Regions from separate parts of the Homo sapiens genome. Here region 1 is linked to region 2. The links are contacts of gene promoters, found by promoter capture Hi-C in blood cells and fetal thymus (Javierre and others, 2016). All regions are on one chromosome and are shown on one strand. Each heading gives the region's core, a stretch centred on a gene start or on the middle of the fragment in contact. The rest is flanking DNA. Distances are from core to core; before and after follow the strand shown. Region 1 holds the start of PRRC1 (proline rich coiled-coil 1). Region 2 holds the start of MEGF10 (multiple EGF like domains 10).

Evidence for each region. The method cuts DNA at HindIII sites, captures the fragments that hold promoters and counts their contacts. A CHiCAGO score of 5 or more calls a contact.
Region 1: the fragment with the promoter of PRRC1 here is called in contact with the fragment with the promoter of MEGF10 in region 2 in 5 of 17 cell types (megakaryocytes, endothelial precursors, erythroblasts and 2 more); the score reaches 10.2 in megakaryocytes.

The regions. Positions count from the first base shown.
Region 1 is chr5:127,516,212-127,519,346 of GRCh38, reverse strand. PRRC1 (proline rich coiled-coil 1) reads right to left here and starts at 1,707. Exons shown (of 9, transcript NM_130809.5): 1 at 1,571-1,707. RefSeq lists an enhancer at 1,530-1,709 and a silencer at 1,770-1,839. The HindIII fragment of the contact is 4,735 bases long and covers 1,051-3,135 here.
Region 2 is chr5:127,288,858-127,292,131 of GRCh38, reverse strand. It overlaps MEGF10 (multiple EGF like domains 10), which reads right to left and starts at 1,336. Exons shown (of 25, transcript NM_001256545.2): 1 at 1,076-1,336. LOC105379199 reads left to right here and starts at 1,396. Exons shown (of 4, transcript XR_007058921.1): 1 at 1,396-1,554. The HindIII fragment of the contact is 5,574 bases long and covers 1-3,274 here.

The DNA of each region.
Region 1 (3,135 bases), core at 458-2,957, 230 kb before region 2:
GGAAAGATCTATGGCACTAAGCAGAGAACAGGGATCCGGGGAGGCTGAATCCTTTCATTCAGTACCTATACATCGAAGGTAAATAACCTGAGATAGAAATGCCCCTTTGGAGATTTTACCACTCCTCAACCAAAGCTCCCTCTTTTCTTCATTTAATTTTTTATTGGTCATTCACCCTCTACTACAGATGCTCCCCAATCCTTACAATGACTAGTAGAAGTCCTATTGTAAGAGAATCCCTAACATTAACAAATGTGTCTGCAAAAGAAACTGTACAATGAATACAAAGTCATTAAGTGGAATAAATAATCAATTTCTTTGTCTTTAATGGCTTTTTATATGAAAACTGCCGTAATGGCAATACTGAGGTAAATTTTACATGCATAAACATAGTGCCTTCTACTAAAAAAACCTATTATGATAAAACAATACTGAAGTGTCAGAGTTGGTAACTGTTTTAGGGCTCAAGTCTTGTCACGAAAAGTACTATTCATATATCAACACTAAAGAAAAAGTGAAGAAAATGGTTTGGAAAACTGAGTTCTCAGTCCGGCTAGACCCTGTTGTTCCAATTTGCTTGTGCCTTGGTTTTTCTGTTAAAAAAAAAAAAAAAAAGTGGATGTCTATTTACAAGTTTACAAGAAATGGAAGAGTGAAGCTCTGATAAACTTTAAAGCATTAAGAGCAATTATTGCTGACCTACTCGTGCCACAAGATTGTCTCTACTACCAAACAGTGAGCGCTAGTTAGAGCCTAATCTGACCCCGAAATAAAATTTTATAAATTTTCACTGAATTAAACACTGGCTGCACAGGAGAAAGACTGAATGCCAAGATGTGTCACGATCGCAGAAATGCACATGTTGTCTCTCAAAATAACTACTTCGAATGACAAAAACACTATTGGCTATAAATTCTGTCAATCTAGGAAACGTGCTATCTGCAAATTTGCCTGAAGCAGGTCCCAAGACCAAACAAAGAAACGAGAGAATGCAAAAACTCTCCCAAGCGGCGCTAAGCACCGATGGGGTAACCTCAGGGAAAATAAGCTTCCTTTCATTGCAGGTCCTGGTGTGATGACTCTCGAGCCTCCTGGGCCTCTCCAGGGCCAGAGCGGCCGAAATCCTGTTTCAGGAGACAGCGGCTTCCCCTCAGGCTCTGCCACGTCTCCAGGCCAGACAGGGCCGGGCTAAGGTCCGCCGGCGCTCCCGCCAGTCTCCCCTAAAGTCAGCGCCCTGGAAGGTGGGGCCAGAGCGCTCCTGCCTTGGTCCTTGGACAGGAGCAAAGTGTCGCGGGGCGAGACCCTCGAACCGCGCCCACCGTGCCATCCCCAGCGGAAACTGCTCACCTTGCGATGTGCACTCCTGCCTGCTGCACCCCGCACGCCGCCACAGCTGAGCCTGGACCACGGGACTAGGGGGCTCGCAAACGACATCGGCGTCCAGTGGCGCCGGCCGGCCCGCCCACCTTCCAGGGACACCGTCCCTCGGGGTCTGGCTCTGGCGCCTGCAAGCCATGCCATGCCATGCCACCCCCCTCATACACGCCCCTCGGAGCCACCTGGCGCTCACCTGGGGACCGGGAAAGTGCCTGCGTGGTCGCTGAAGAGTGTGGTATGATAGGGAGGTCGGGACGTAGAACTACAGCTTGGAGAAGACAACGAAGGCGCACCCTGGAAGTTACCTCGGCGTGTCCCCGCCTACAAGATGGCCACGGGCGGCGCATGCTCCTGCGGCTGCCACGTCGGCCGCGCGCCGCACCGCGCCGCGCGTCGCCGCCCCGCCCCGCTCCGCCCCGCATCGCATCGCCCCGCTCCGCCTCCGCATCGCCCCGCCCCCCCTGTCCCATGCGCTGTGAACCCGGCCGGGACGCTGCAAGTTAAACTTTGGAGCCAAGATCTTCCTAACTACCGAGACTTGGTTCTGCCCACACCCTCTAGAAACATCTTCCAAAGGGCTGGCCTCCTTTCTACTTCGCAGCCCCCTTACACGAGAGTGGCACTCTTGTTACCAGGCGTAGCTCACTCATCCTGTGCCACAGCGGCCCAAGGGATAAGATCAGTTAGCCAAGGTCATCTGGTTGGCGGTCATCTAGCCAACATCAGCTAGTCCAGTCAGCACCTCCAGGAAGGACCTCGCGGCAGATACAGGGGACTTAGCCTGTATAGTCAAAGATTTCCAGATAACAGTGATTATATCAGGAGAGAGGGATTAGGAGAAGAGGGAGAGGGGAGAAGAGTAGCAGTTACTGTACTGAATTTTTCCCCAAGTGCATGTATTGCACATTCTTTTTTTAATTGTAAAATAGACAGATTATCAACTTTCTTATTATATGCTGCACCTAACACAGTACCTGAAATAGTTGGTGTTCAATAATGTACATTAAATAAATTAATGGAGTGCGATAGAGGAAAATAAGGAACTTCAAATCAGAAGTCTTGATTTGAGTCTGAGACTACTCTAATGCCAGTTGTACAGTTGCCTGCCCTTGTACAGGTCACTTAGTCTCCATAAGTCTTCATATTTCTACCTGCAAACTGAGAATAATACTATCCACCATCCCTAAATCAGGCAGGTGACAGACTCAAATAAAATAGAGCATATGAAAATTTTTTAAACTTTTTGTCTTTTTGAGATGGTGTCTTGCCCTGTTGCCCAGGCTGGAGTGCAATGGCGCCATCTCGGCTCACTGCAACCTCTGCCTCCCGGGTTCAAACGATTCTCCTGCCTCAGCCTCCCGAGTAGCTGGGATTACAGGCACAGGCCACCACACCCAGCTAATTTTTGTACTTTTAGTAGAGACAGGGTTTCACCATTTTGGCCAGGCTGGTCTCGAACTCCTGACCTCGGCCCGCCTCGGCCTCCTAAAGTGCTGGGATTACAGGCGTGAGCCACCGCACCTGTCCGAAAACATTTTTTAAATTGCTTAGCATTAAATATATAAAAAATTGTTTTTGTTGTTCTCAATTTTTTTTCAGGAACTCACTTAGAGATTTCACATTAATCTATCTCTTGAGCTTCACAGTTGTAAGCATTCCAAAATACCTCACTGAAAAGTTAATACTATGTAGCAATACTCTGACTTCAGATCTCACTGTGCAACTACCATGGGCGGTTTTCTTTGGCGGTGGCTCCTA
Region 2 (3,274 bases), core at 87-2,586:
CGTGTCAGGAAGATGACATTTCTGGATAATATAAATTGGCCCCAGTATTTCTGTCCATAAGGAATGAAGCATTTTTATTTGGGAACCCTATACACAAAGTGAGACCCAGGATATAAAGGAGTAAGGCAAGAAGAACAAGAAGAAATGTCATTCTCTTCTGCCTTGGCACAGCATGGTTATCACAGCCTAAGAACAATAATAATGGCTAATTTTGGCTAATAAGATCTCCAACTTTGACTTTCTCCTAAATAATGTGGGTCCTTGCGTGAGGATATTTTCTAAAGAAGCAGCAAAGATATTGCCATCATTCATTTGCTCAGTGGTGTCACTAAGAAAAATACTTCCAGAAAGAAAATTAAGGCCAAAACACTTCCTTAAACCAGGCGTAAAAGTCCTCTAACAAGGAATTTAAAAGAAAAAGATCAACACCGGATTTATCTTTCTTAAGTAACTATCACTTGAAAAACCGTCCCTCCCAGCACTCCTTAAGGAGCCAAGCATACTGACAAGGCCCCTTTGGTCTAAGACTGCGACCTCACACCCCTACTGATCGCTGAGAACTCAGGAAAGGGGAGCATCCCGCCAGCCTAGAGCGTTATCTGCACAATCTGAATACCAAGGACGGGAGAAAGAGAAGTTTAGAAAACAGTGAAGATCCCAGAAAGGAAGTTCAACTGACCTAGAAGAAAGGGCCCAGCTGAAACTGCCTTTCAAGCTCAGTCCGATTCCCCACAAATCTCCCTACATCCAGCTATATCGCCCGGCAAAATGAAACAAACACAAGGTAAGGCAATACAAGGGCAGGAATTATGCAAAATAAAATGCGTAATGAGGATGTCTCTCCATCAAAAATACTCCAGGATTTTCCTACACAATCCCATGTAACAAAACCAAATGCAAACAACAATAAACCCTTAAGAAGCGCATGAACAACGCAGACTGAGCCCATCTCGCCCCACCTCACGCCGCACCCCGGTACCCTGGCTAAGGAAAATGTGACCCCCGCCCATGAGAAGCCTTCCGGCGTCCGGCCAAGGTCCAGGAGCCGCCGGAGTTGAGTTTGCCCAACTCTTACCCAGGTCCAGAGATCTTGAGAATCGCAGCGCAACCTTTTCTCCCCGGTCTTCACCCAAAGCCAGCCAAGACACAAAATCTGTTCCAATCAACGCGGTTAGCGTCCAAGCAGCGTCCCAGAAGAAAGCAATCTTTGGGAGTCTTCTTTCAGGCGTAAAGGTGGAGAAGCGGGAAAGAGGAACGTCTCAACGCGTTCCCAGTCGCCCAGTTTTGCGCACCGGGAAAGTACTTGCTGCAAACTTGAACAAGGTTTTCTCTGTCTGGCCCGAGATGCTGGAGGGGGTGGGGGCGGGTAACCCGAGCCGGGGCCGGGATTCGAGCAGTTGCCGCTGCTGCAGCTGCTGCTGCCGGGGCAGTGGCCGCTGGGGGGTTGTCGCTTGGCGCCGCGCGCAGTCCCTAGCGCAACATGCAGGATCTTCCCGGCCTGACTGCTGCACCTCGATCGTGAGTCGCCCCTGCCTGAGCGGCTTCCACCGCCTGGTGGGTGACCCCGCCAAAGGCCTGGTCGCGAAGTTAGCAAATGTTGGGGTCACCGCAGGGGGTGACCGAAGGGGTGTCAGAGTGGGTGCCCGCCTGATTCCCAACCCACGTTGGGTGCAAGTCCCTCGGCAGAGTCCCTGGGAGGTGTTCTAGACCCTCTGTAAGGATTTGTGGGACGGTGGCCGGCGCCCGAGCGGCCAACTGGAGTGGACGGCGGGTCCTCAGTGGTGTCAGGGGAGAAAGCGCAAAGGTGGGACCCAGAAAGGATGGTGATTAAGCCGTGCCAGAGAATGTGATGTGGCAGCAAAGTACATGGAAAGGTGGGGCGGGGAGGTGAAGGCAGAGGGTGGAGGGTGGGATAGTCTGCTTTACCATGGAGGGGCGGAGAGAGAACTCCCCGGACGCGCAGGAAAATCCCCCCAGGTCCTCGGAGGCCTCGCGCGGCAATTTATTGGGGAATGGCTCCCTCTGCCGACTCGCCGAGGAGGCCCCGGGAGGCCCAGTGATGGAATGTTAAAACCATGAACGGGCTTTTCCATTTGTGGGTTAGACAGGACATGAATTCTGGAATCTGCTTCTCTGACTGTCCATCTTCCTCTTCCAGACTAAAGAGTTTTCCAGCTTTTACAGGACCCCAAAAGATACAAATTTGACTGCTGCAAAGTTCTTTCTTGTGTCGTTGAATTCTATCCCCCTCTCCCCACAAAAAAACAAAAACAGGTTTAAGCCCCATAACCACTCCAGGTAACCATCTCCTACCAGGCTTCTCTTCCTCCCATTAATAAGAACTCTTTCTTTTTAGAGAGACTTCAAGAGCGTTCGAGTCCCTACTCAATAACGCTCCTGGAAAATAGTACAGACTCCATATTATGTTTGAGTGAATAAATGAATGGAATGAATGAACATAGATATGTTTGAAGCCCCTCACCATCCTCTTTACTCTCCCTGGAAATACACAGGGGAAGACTGTTTTGGTGTTTGTTTATTTGTTTGTTTAGCAGTCATCATTGCCCCTTCTCTGGTAACAGTACCTCCATTTTTCTTTGAGATACCATCCCTGCCACAAGGACAGCAGTCTGGGTGGAAGGTCAGTCAGGATGGTCCAGCTTTTCCCTGTCCAGAAGAGAGCAACTGACCTCAGCTAAGCCCCTCAGGCCCTCTCTGCCAGGAGTTGGAACTTTGATCTGGGCAGCACAGGCACAAATAATTCTAGAGGTGATTAATCCATATGGCTGTTTTCTAAGGAAATTGGCTGTTAGTTCATGCCACTTATTACCCAAAGATATTTTGCTTTATGAAACTTGGTTGCCCCACTTTCCTTTTAATTTTTTAATCAACTTTATTGGGGGATAAGTTACATTCCATATATTACACTCATATTAATTATACAGCTTCATGAGTTTTGAATAATGTACACACCCATGTAACCACTGCTTCAATCAAGATAATGAACAATTCCATCACCTCAGAGGGTTGTCTTGCACCCCTTTAAAGTCAACTTCTATCCCACCTCATATTTGGCCCGCTTAGCTGTTTTCTGTAACTACAGATTAGATTTGTCTTTTCTAACATTTCATATGAATGGAATCACTTACATATTCCTTTGTGTCTGACTTCCTTCACTCCACACAATGTTTTTGAAACTCATTAATGTTGTGCCTGTATCTGAAGTTTGTTCCTTTTTATTGCTGAGTAGTATTCCATTGTATGGATATACCAC